Linked DNA regions of Homo sapiens: all the other regions are linked to region 1. The links are contacts of gene promoters, found by promoter capture Hi-C in blood cells and fetal thymus (Javierre and others, 2016). All regions are on one chromosome and are shown on one strand. The core of a region is centred on a gene start or on the middle of the fragment in contact, and the rest is flanking DNA. Distances in the headings are between cores, read along the strand shown. Region 1 holds the start of KLF3 (KLF transcription factor 3). Region 2 has its middle 190 kb from the start of PTTG2. Region 3 overlaps TBC1D1 (TBC1 domain family member 1).

Region 1 (3,485 bases), core at 600-3,099:
ATTTAATCGAACATCTAATTTCAGGTTTCTATTAACAGCCTAAGGTCAACTAACATACCTCTTTTCAAACCAGAAGAAATCACTCGTGGACACTTTCCTTAAACACTATTACTAACTCCAAAAAATTTGTAGATATTAATGCTAGCAGATTGTTTTTTCCCCTAAAAGCAAGTCTTCTTCCCTAGGGTGAGGCAGATCATCCAGATGAATTTCTCTTATAAAAATGCTCCTCAAATTCGTACAGAAAAGGATAGCACAAAACTGCTGTGTGGAAAAACCTATAATGAACAACTGGCCTATTCCCCACTTGATTTTGCTGGCACATTTCAGGTACTTGTCAGAATACCACTTCATACTTTTTCCCATATACCAGACTCTTGTGAGAATATAATCAATATATTTAAAATGTCTTGGGTGATATTAATGGAAACATAAATTCTGAGTAAGAAATTCAGTGGTTAAGTGTAAAATGTTTATTTTAGTGAAATACAAGAAGGTGAGCAATTTCCAATTTCCGTTTAACTTGACTTATTAAAAATAAGTCTCATTCACATTCTTCTAGTATTATTGTATACTGCTATAAAATTTAAACCAGAAAAGTGCTTCTCCTTGTCAGTAGCTATCTGCCCAAAAAAATGAATATGACAATTCCAGATCTCATCTGCCATCTCTAAGAAAGCCACTTGGAAATGTTAGGTAGGTCCCATGGGTCCTGATCCAGGGATCTGTCCCTGGGTCCCCATCAGGCTCGGCTGCAGGCAGTTGCCTAAGGCGTCTTCCGCCTTCAGCCACGCTGCAATCCTTGCTCCAGGCACTGCGGCAGGTTCTCTCCATGCCCCCAGGAAGACTCTCCAAACCCGACCAGCTCATTTCTCCTGCCCCGGAGGATCCAGACGCCCTGGCAGCTCCTGGGCTCCAGAACCGAGAATGGGATGCTGCCTCCAATCCCAATTGCCCTAAGTTTCTTTCCAGAGGGCCGGGAGACTGCTCCAAGTTTGCTGTGGCGGGCGAGCGGCCGCGCGCCGTGTCCTGGGAGGGGGGCGGCGGGGGGCGCGGGCGGAGGGAGGGGAGGGGAAGGACGCGGGAGCCTGGGTTGTGGTGGTGGTGGGGGGGCACCGGGAGGGGGAGGAGCAGGAGCGCGCGGCCGCGGCGCTACCTTTCTCCAAACAACGTTGCCACACGCGGAGAGCACGGAGATTTCTGGGGCTTTGGAGGGAATCGTGAGCGGGCGGGAGGAGGCCGGGGACCACACAGGTGAGCCCCCGCCCGCGCCCTGCCCGGGACGGCGGCGGGCGCTGCCAGCCCCGCTCCCCCGCACCCGGGGTCCGCACGGTGCCTCGCCTCAACCCCTCACTTTTCACCGCGAACCCGTGACCCCCTCCTCCTTGCTTGCTCTCCGCCCCCACCCCGGCTAAGTGTAGCCGCCACACTTTCCCAAGCCCGCAGGCGCCCCCCCCAACACCAGCGCTGCACCCCCGACCCATTCCCCGCGGCCCCCTCCAGGAGAAAAAATGAAACCAGACTGGCCGAGGAGGGGGGCGGCAGGGACCAGGGTGCGGAGCAGAGGTGAGGGAGACGGGACTTACTTTGCGAGGCGCGGTGCAGGGCGCCGCCGACGAGAAATAAAGGCCCCGATACGGGCTGCCTGGAGCCCCCCGAGCGCAGCAATGTCAGGGCTCCAGTCCGGGCGGCGTTGGCGGCCGCAGGGGACGGGGACGGGCGCGCGTGCGGCGGGCGCTCTCGCTGCGCTCCGGCTCGGGCCCCGGCTCCGCGCGGCTCCGCTCCTGGCTCCCCTCTGGCTCCTGGCACCAACTCCGGGCAGTCACATGACGCCGGCGCCGCTCGCTCTGCGAGCCTCCCGGGGCTGGCGGGGTAAGTAGAGGCTGGGACCCGGGGTGGGAGGGTCAGGGAGGGGAGAGGGAGCCGCCGCGGCCGCCCGGGCTGGGCGGGTCCCCACCCACTTGGGTGGAGGCAGCCGCCGGAGGGGTCGGCCGAGTCACTCGCGCAAACACGCACCCCGCCCTGCGCCCTTCCCCCGCCACCCCCGCCTCCCGCGCCGCCTCCGCCCCGCCCCGCCCAGTCACCCGGGGACGGCCTGACAGACACTCATTATTCCCCGGAGCCGGGCGCCGCCCCGCCGGCCCAACCTGTCCCACGAGGCGCGGCGCGGCCGTGGGGCTGGGCGTGCGCGGCGCGGCCTCCGCCCCCCGCCCGCGTCCCCGCCCGCGTCCCCTCCCCGCGCCCTCCTCCCCGGAGTCCGCGCCCCGCCAGCCCTCCCGCCCGGCCCAGCCGCCGCGCCGCCGCCCGAGCCCGGGGGGAAGGAAGGGCGGCGCTGCCCGCTCCGGGCGTCACACGGCTGCGGCCCGCTGCGCTGCTTCCAAAACACACAGCCGGGCTCGCGGGCGAGCCGAGGCGGGGGGCGCGGGCTGCCAGGGCCATCGATCAGCCGGCTCCAGCGGGAAGGGCGGCCCCGGGCGCGGCGGGAAGGGCTGGGCCCCGCGGCCGGCGCGGCGCGGCGCGGCCCCTCCTCGGCTGAGCGCACTCAGCTCACTGCAAGAGAAAAGCCGAGCCGAGGCGGCCGCGGTGCAGGAGCGAGTGGGCCGGGCGGGTTCGGGAGGGGAAGAGCGGCCGCTGGGGCGCGCCGAGCCTCCCTGGCCCCGAGTCGCCGGGGTCAGGGGACACCCTGTAGGCGCGCTCTTTCTTTGTGCCCTGGGGCGACGGGTCCCCCTGGCCGGCGGCCCAGGCGGCGCCCCCCACCTCGTGGGACTTTTCTTTGAAGGCCCGGAGACCCCTGGGGCAAAACTCCCACGGGCCAGGCCTGCCGCTGGAGCTAAAAAGCGGCATTTGCGCAGTTGGGCTTGCCTGGAAACTTGGCAAACTTTGGTCGGATCCTCCCCTGCAGAGCGAGGGCCTGGCCTGGCGACCCCCTCATTTCAAGTCGCTTCTAGGGACCTAGCGCCCTAAGCTCAGTGGCCTTCAGGGTGCTGCGAGCGAGCGGGGCGGCACAAAAGCGCGTTCGGTCCAAGCCAGGCCCCTTCGAGGACTTTGTGTAGATTGGTACCTAAGTTTAATGCCTTTTGAGTTTCTTTTTAAACAGTATTAATGTAATAATTAATGTAATAAAAAGAACAAAGGACGAATTCGTTCGATTGTTTTAAGTTCTGTGTAATGTTTAAAACCGCCCCTGCTTCAGTGTATGGCTTATTATTGCTTCAAGATGTTTTAAAGGCCCTTTAAGTTGACCCATCTCGCTTTGATGCTTCATCCAGACATCGTGCTGCTTAAAACGGAGTGATAATAGTATATTTCGAGCCGCTTCATGTAGCTACACAGTATTGTAAAATTAGTACTCGGTAACCTCAAGTAGTGAAATCGCATATTTTAAATAACGCAAGTCCAGGAAAGGCCACGTGGAGGATACCCAGAACCGACGCCGGCTCATGGGACGTCGTGCTGTCCCATAAGCTTCATCTTTAAAATGTAAA
Region 2 (3,541 bases), core at 309-2,808, 520 kb after region 1:
CTCAAAGAAAATATTCCATATTAATGAGGGTTGAGCAGGCTCATGGATTTACATTCTAAACACCAATCTGGCAGCGTCTGTCAAAAATGAAAGATGCACTTTCATTTGTTTACTGAATATCTGATTGCCTCTTATGTCCAAGTGCTGCCCAAGATATAACAACAGTGAGGAAGTAAGACCCTTTCCTCACAAATCTTACTTTCCTGTGGCAGGGACAGACAGATAAGCAACCAAACATGGACTATACTGTCAGAGAGCAGTAATTAGCATGGACAGGGCTGGATAGAGAGTACAGGGCAGAGGGGGCAGGGGCTGCCTATTAGACAAGGTGAGACCACAGTGAAGTGAGGAAACAAACCAAATGTCTGACCAGGACAGGAGCTTCCAAAGCAGATGGAGCAATGAGTGCAGATGCCCTGAGAGGGAGCATGGGGGTTGTCAGCAGAGCAGAGGCCAGAGAGTTGCAGTAAGTGAGGAGGAGAGGTAGGAAGCAAGGTCTGAGAGCAAGGAGGGGTGGGGGCAGATCTTGGCAGAGCCTTTCAGCAGAGACTGTGAACTGTCTCTAATATCCACATTCCCTTCTTCCCTTTGTAATAAAATCCCCCCATCTTTTTTTTTTTTTTTCCTGAGACGGAGTCTCGCTCTGTTGCCCAGGCTGGCAATCGAGTGCAGTGGCGCGATCTCGGCTCACTGCAACCTCCGCCTCCCAGATTCAAGTGATTCTCCTGCCTCACCCTCCCGAGTAGCTGGGACCACAGGCGCCCACCACCATGCCCGGCTAATTTTTGTATTTTTAGTAGAGACAGGGTTTCACCATGTTGGCCAGGCTGGTCTCGAACTCCTGACCTCAGGTGATCCACCCGCCTCACCCTCCCAAAGTGCTGCGATTACAGGCATGAGCAACCATGCCCAGCCAAAATCCCCCATCTTTGTGGGGCTCACATTGAGACCCTATCTCCCAGGCTCTTGTGCCACTTGGTGTGGCTACATCAGTGAGTTCATGCTAATGGACCATGGATGGAAATGGTTTCTGCTACTTCTTGGTTCTGTATTTATAAAATGGGCAACGGGCAATAAATGGGCAATGTTCCCCTCTCTTTTATCCTTTCTCACAGGCAGAGCAAAGACCTGGTGCTGGTAAGCCTATTTCTTCCCTGTGGACAAGGCAAAGTCTCCAGGGCAGAGTTTCTTAAAGAAAGTGTGGTCCTTGGACCTGCATCCTCAGCATCATCGGGAAACTTACCAAAATGCAAATTTTCAGGCCCCCCTCCAGAACTACTGAATCAGAAACCTTGGGGGTGGGGCCCAGCCATCTGTATTTTAAGAAACCCTCCAGGGGACTCAAGCTTCAAAACCACTGCCCAAGAACAGGGTTGCTCAACATCAGCAATACTGACATTTTGGACCCATGATAACTTGTTGCGGAGGCTGTTCAAAGTATTGTAGGATGTTTAGCAGCCATCTCTGGCCTCTACCCACTAGATGACACTAACACACACCCTTCTTCATTCCCCAGTTGTTAAAACCAAAAATGTCTCCAGACATTGTCAAATGTACCCCAGGGAACAAAATTACCCCTAGTTGAGAACTACTGCCCTGGATGTTGGAGGAGTAAGAAGACAGAAGGAACCTGGGTCTTCAGTTGGCCTTGTAGAACAGAAACACTCTCCATCCCAAATGGCCCACCTGCCCTCTGGACTGCTATAAAGGTTTGAGAAGTTGCTATTTTGTTTGAGCAACTCTATTTTGAGTGGCTGTGCAGAAGCTTAAATTGCATCCCAACAACTGCCAGCCTTTCAGGGCCTCATAAGTACTTAACACTTTGTTTTAATGTGATGGGAAACCACTAGAGTTTGGTTAAAGCAGGGTAGTGACATGATTTGTTTTGAAAGGTCCACTTTGGATGCTGTGTGAAGAACAGACTGAGGGGATGTAGAAAGGATGTGTTTGATGGACTGGATGTAGGATATGAGAAAAAGAAAGGGGTCAACTAAGCAACTGAGTGAATGACAGTGCCATTGACCAACACGGAGATCTGTGGGGGACAGGGTTGATCTGAGGGGATGGGGATCAGGACTTCAGTTTGTGCTCTTTGCTGCTGTGATTCACTGAATTTATCTTTCAGATACATTTACAGATTCACAAAGGTATTATGTGCAGATATGCTCAAGGCAGATAAACTCAAATGTCCATCAGTGTGAACCTGGTTCAATACGTTGTGGTGCATCCAAGCACAGAAATATTATGTTCAGGTGTTGAAGAGTGAAGTGGGCCGGGCGCAGTGGCTCATGTCTGTAATCCCAGCACTTTGGGAGGTCAAGGCAAGCAGATCATGAGGTCAAGAGATCGAGACCATCTTGTCCAATGTGGTGAGACCCTGTCTCTACTAAAAATACAAAAATTAGCTGGGCGTGTAGTCCCTGCTACTCTGGAGGCTGAGGCAGGAGAATTGCTTGAAGCTGGGAAGGTGGAGGGAGCCAAGATCATGCCACTGCACTCCAGCCTGGTGACAGAGTGAGACTCCATCTCAAAAAAAAAAAAAAAAAAAAAAGATAAAAGAAAAAAAAAGACTGGAGTGGATTTGTATACTGCAGTGGCAGTGGTCAAGAGCATGGGCTCTTGAGTCTGAACTGCTGGGCTTGGTGGCCTTGGGCAGTAGGCATGACCTCTTTAGATAGCTTCCCCAACTATAAATTAGGATAATAATGGTACCTCTCCTATAGTTTTGAGATTAAATGAAACAAACTTACACAGTACTCATCAGTACTTGGCTCATTCATTAGTTATCTCTTTATGAGTGTGAACTATTATTTCTATCATTATCTACATGTACTGATATGAAAATATTCCCAAGATATTTTTAAAGAGCAAGGTAACTGATTAGTGTGTATAGTGTTATCATTTATGTGAAAAAAAAAGAATATCTGTATAAACACACACACATACATACATTCTGTAGTATGCATATCAATTCATCCTGTAGTATGCATATCAATTTTTGGAGGAAGAGATAAGAAACTGCTAAGTGATTACTTTTGGGAAGTAGGATATAGGTTGAGGGGACTTTGGAAAACTTTGTTTTGTATGTTTCTGTTGTGTGTGCAAGTCTTTAGCACATGCAACATATCAAGGAAAGATATCTTTTAGAAAGACCACATACTGAAAAGGTGGAAACTAGGTTGTTGGTTGTTGGTTTTTTTTTTTTTTACTGTAGGATTTTCTGGCATCCTTAACACATGCTAACATATTTTTAATCTCTCAGAGGAGCAAAATCCTTGAAATGGTGTGCCTCAGAACCTCCCCAGTCTAGGAAACAGGGAGGGCTAAGGCTGGCCACAGCCACAGAAAAATCTAGGCTAGGCATTTTGAGGTAGCCAGACTGCTCCTCCCAAGGTGCCTTAAGTCATGACAGCTCTTTCAGACAACTTTTGACTGGTCCCCAAGCAACTCATTCTTAAGCCCCACAAGTTGTCTTCTTCTCTCTGGTTTATGCCTCCCTTTGTAAATGAATGACCTGCAACTTCCCCAGGAGCTGGAGGAG
Region 3 (3,596 bases), core at 364-2,863, 530 kb after region 1:
GGAAAGCCCAGCCTGCTGTTGCCTTTGGTGAGTTAATGAACTACCATATATTTGTGATTCAGGAAGCTGCTTTATAAATATGCTCTACCTGCAACTGTTCAAGGAGGTCAAGGTTCTGTTTGCGTAAGCTGCTGTTGGTTTTCTCTAATTTATCCATTCTTTGGTTGTCACTGAGAGGAGAGGAATCGATAAGTTCTTCTTGAAGGACGTGGTACTCAACTTCATAAGCTTGTAACTGTTTAGCGATGTCCATTTCAAATACCTGTTATAGAAAGAAAAGTCATCACGTACTAAAACTGAGAAAAACCCCACAAGTACAGGCAGGCGTCTGCAATCACGACAATGCGCACCTGTGAAGCGTCTCCTCTACGCTTAGCTCTACACTTGGTACTAGAAGTAATAAATAAGAAAAACTACGCACTGAGAAGGTAATAATTTTACTTGGGACAAAAGGATATAAGAAACATCTAGAAATAATTCCAAGGTAACATTAAGTACAGGTTTTTGATACTCACCTTCCAAAAGCCAAAAAAAAAAAAAAAACCTCTCATTTTTAAAGACATAAAAATTTATTTTTAGTTCTTATTTCACTTCTTTTCTCTGAAAATTCTGTTAGGTTAGATACATCAACTATGGGTTAAAAGGAGAAAAGAAACAAAAGAATCATAGCCTGTTTGCAGAGTCACCAAGTCAAAGTTTAATTATAGTTCAGTTGGGTTTTCAGAGTTACAAGAACAGCTAAGTAATGGGACTGTTTACTAAAAAACTCTCCTTTGCACACAAATATGCAGAAATGAGCCAAAACCCACATGTCACCCACACAGATGAGTGAATACGAAACGATGCCTGAGTTGTCTTCTTTCCCACAATAGTAATGGTGACGAAAACACCACACGTGTGAAAAACAACTCCTAAGTGCCTAAGTGACTCAAGCCGTCCGTGTCTGTACTTTCTCTTGGTAAGGAAGGCAGGGCGGAAAGCAGAATCAGAAGACAGCTGCTGCTGCTGCTGCCCAAGGCATTTCCTTTCTTTCCAGTTGTTTCTATGAGAGAACCCCAGGGGCTGGGGCCTCTCAGCACAGCAGTGAAGCCCTAACGTTTATCTGATGGATCTGAGAATGCAGTCAAGCTGGGACCATCTTAAAAGAAAAAAAAAAAAAACCCTGCTAGATCAGAACACACATTCAGAAAGTGAAGTCAGGCTTTAAAAGGGCAGAAACTGCCTCTCTATTGCATTGCCTTAAGCAACTCCAATATTGTTAAAAATCAGTGTAAAACTACTTCTTCTGATGGCTCCCTACTGGCATTCAAACTAGCCTATCTTCCCTGGAATCAATTTTCAAAAACCATGTTTCCTTTCTCACCATTCCCAACAATCTTATTTTCTCTTCCTTGAGATGAATTTTTCAGCTTGCTGTTTTTGATTCAGTGGATAATATTAATAAGGCACAAAAGTCATTTGATGCCTAAAAACTAAAATCCATTATATCTGTGGGGTGTGTGTGCATGTGTGCGAGGGGAGTAAGAGGGAGAGAGAGAATTGTTTACTGGATTGAACTGATTCTCTTTTGTCCTTCAGAGCGACCGTGAGGTCAGCAGGGATTATTATCTCCATTTGACAGCCGAGGTAACTGGCTCAGAGGCTTTGAGTCAGCCTTAAAATTGCGGCTCCACTGGCGACTCTATGAATGACTTGAGCTCGGTACTTAACCTCTCTCAGCCACAGTTCCTGGCCTCCCACCTGGGGCAGACAGCGCCTACCTCCCAGGATGGCTGTGAGAATTAAACGAGGCAACTCCTGGAAGTTCCCAGCACACGCCTGGCAGGTTGAGCAGGCGCTCTCTTAGCTAAGGGATCTGCTTCCACACACCTGCCACAAAACCCTCACATTTCAACCTCAGCAAAACCATCATCAATGGATGCCACGTCATGGAACTTCTGAATAGTCTGAACAGTAAAAACCACAAATGTTAAAACTGAGATTGTTTGGCACTCATGTATAATTATAAATATGGTGCTGAATAAATGTCATGTACACTATTACTTTTTTTCTTTCACAAAGATTTAAGTGATCTCCTAACCTGGAAAGCCTGGGAACAAAACCTCTGGCTTTTCCTACGGATTGATGTTCTGTGTTAAGTTAATGGCTCTCAGCAGTACCCAAAGCCATAAACTCTTCCAGGCCTCCATTAATCCCTAGGAACCACCCTGGGTCACAATCATCTCTGCTTAATTGCCTGATGATCTCCTGACTGCCAAGACTCCTAGGCCCTTCATTCTGCAGTTATGCCCCTGAATTTACCCCAAACCATGGCAATATGAGGCTGGTGGTCAAAGGAGAACCCTGGTCACTGAACGAGGGCTTCAGCCCTTGGGCTAATTACTTGGGGAAAGAAAAGAATTGGGAGGGGCGCCTGTCCTTGCACACTTAGACAGCACAAGTGATCCACTGCCAGGAGCAGTTCTCAGCCAGAGAAAGAGCAGGAAGGCCTAACATTAAAAACCCAATCCTTTGGTATGTTGTCTCAGATGAATAAAACAGACGAATATTAAAAACTAGGTGTTGATAGGAAAACAAGATATATACACTTTAAGGTGTTTTCATTTCTGGTCTGAGTCACTCCTGAGGCTGGACAAGTGCAGTGCCCACCTCCCCCAGGGTCTTGCCTAAGCCGTTCCCTGAGCACTGGTCACTACACAAAGCTGCAAGGTACCTGGCCCCTCTGCAAGGGGGACTGGCTCTCATCTTCTTTCTTGCTGGCCCATCTCAGAGCAATTCCACTAGAGTTGTAATTACTGGGGATCTAGAGCCTTCCTGTCATCCTGGCTCTTAGGTTCTTCATAGTTTTCAGTCAAGTTCCAGAATTTTGGTACTGAAGAAAATTTCTCTTCTGTTTGCCAAAGTAGGAATGACTATTTCCATACTTTCGATGTTTTGCCGAAAAGATAAAACTATTTTAAGTTACTGAAGCAATAGAGCTACATTATTGGAAGCTTGAAAAATAAAAGAAAAATCACCAAATACAACTTTTATATCTAGCTATATTTCCTATTTCCTAAAAGCATGTTTTTCTAGTTCTAAACATAACCAACATAAAATTTCCTATCCCACTTTTCCTTTACTTAACATTGTATCAAATAAGAGCTTTTTCATGTCGCTATATATAACTGGCTTCATGATATTCTACCAGCTCAACCTACCATCATCATATTAATCCAGTCATCAAGTGTTAGACATCTAGTTCCAAGTTTCTGTTATTATAAGTGACAAGTCTAGGAGAATAACCTTATACATATGGCTTCCCTCATATTTTGGATTATTTCCTGAGGATACATTCCAAGAAACGGGATGACTGAGTCAAAGGGTATGAATATTTTACTGGCTTGGGATATGTTTCGCCAAATTGTCTCCCAACAGCCACTAATCAATGTGCACTGCCATCAGCAACATGCTAATGTTCTGCATACAGTATACCCTTGGTGCTGGGTACTGGCATCAAGAAATGTCTTTCTATTATCTAGTAGAGTAAAGCATTATATGTTACATAAGTTTAAATTACACATGAAGCCAAATACTTTCCCAGATATTTGTTTACT

The links. The method cuts DNA at HindIII sites, captures the fragments that hold promoters and counts their contacts. A CHiCAGO score of 5 or more calls a contact.
Region 2: a contact is called between a fragment that was not itself captured here and the fragment with the promoter of KLF3 in region 1, in 1 of 17 cell types (fetal thymus). The highest score is 5.1, in fetal thymus.
Region 3: a fragment that was not itself captured here is called in contact with the fragment with the promoter of KLF3 in region 1 in 10 of 17 cell types (total CD8 T cells, fetal thymus, activated CD4 T cells and 7 more); the score reaches 17.2 in total CD8 T cells.

The regions. Positions count from the first base shown.
Region 1 is chr4:38,662,563-38,666,047 of GRCh38, reverse strand. It overlaps KLF3 (KLF transcription factor 3), which reads right to left and starts at 1,849. Exons shown (of 6, transcript NM_016531.6): 1 at 1,587-1,849. It overlaps KLF3-AS1 (KLF3 antisense RNA 1), which reads left to right and starts at 1,155. Exons shown (of 16, transcript NR_171644.1): 1 at 1,155-1,254. RefSeq lists silencers at 1,109-1,458, 1,519-2,118, 2,129-2,398, 2,429-2,948 and a promoter at 1,587-2,389. The HindIII fragment of the contact is 3,872 bases long and covers 1-3,467 here.
Region 2 is chr4:38,146,539-38,150,079 of GRCh38, reverse strand. No RefSeq gene overlaps it. Among named protein-coding and RNA genes, the nearest start is that of PTTG2, 190 kb to the right of the region's middle. The HindIII fragment of the contact is 419 bases long and covers 1,349-1,767 here.
Region 3 is chr4:38,129,750-38,133,345 of GRCh38, reverse strand. It overlaps TBC1D1 (TBC1 domain family member 1), which reads right to left. Exons shown (of 22, transcript NM_001396959.1): 21 at 89-262. Among named protein-coding and RNA genes, the nearest start is that of PTTG2, 170 kb to the right of the region's middle. RefSeq lists a silencer at 269-408 and an enhancer at 3,487-3,596. The HindIII fragment of the contact is 2,765 bases long and covers 231-2,995 here.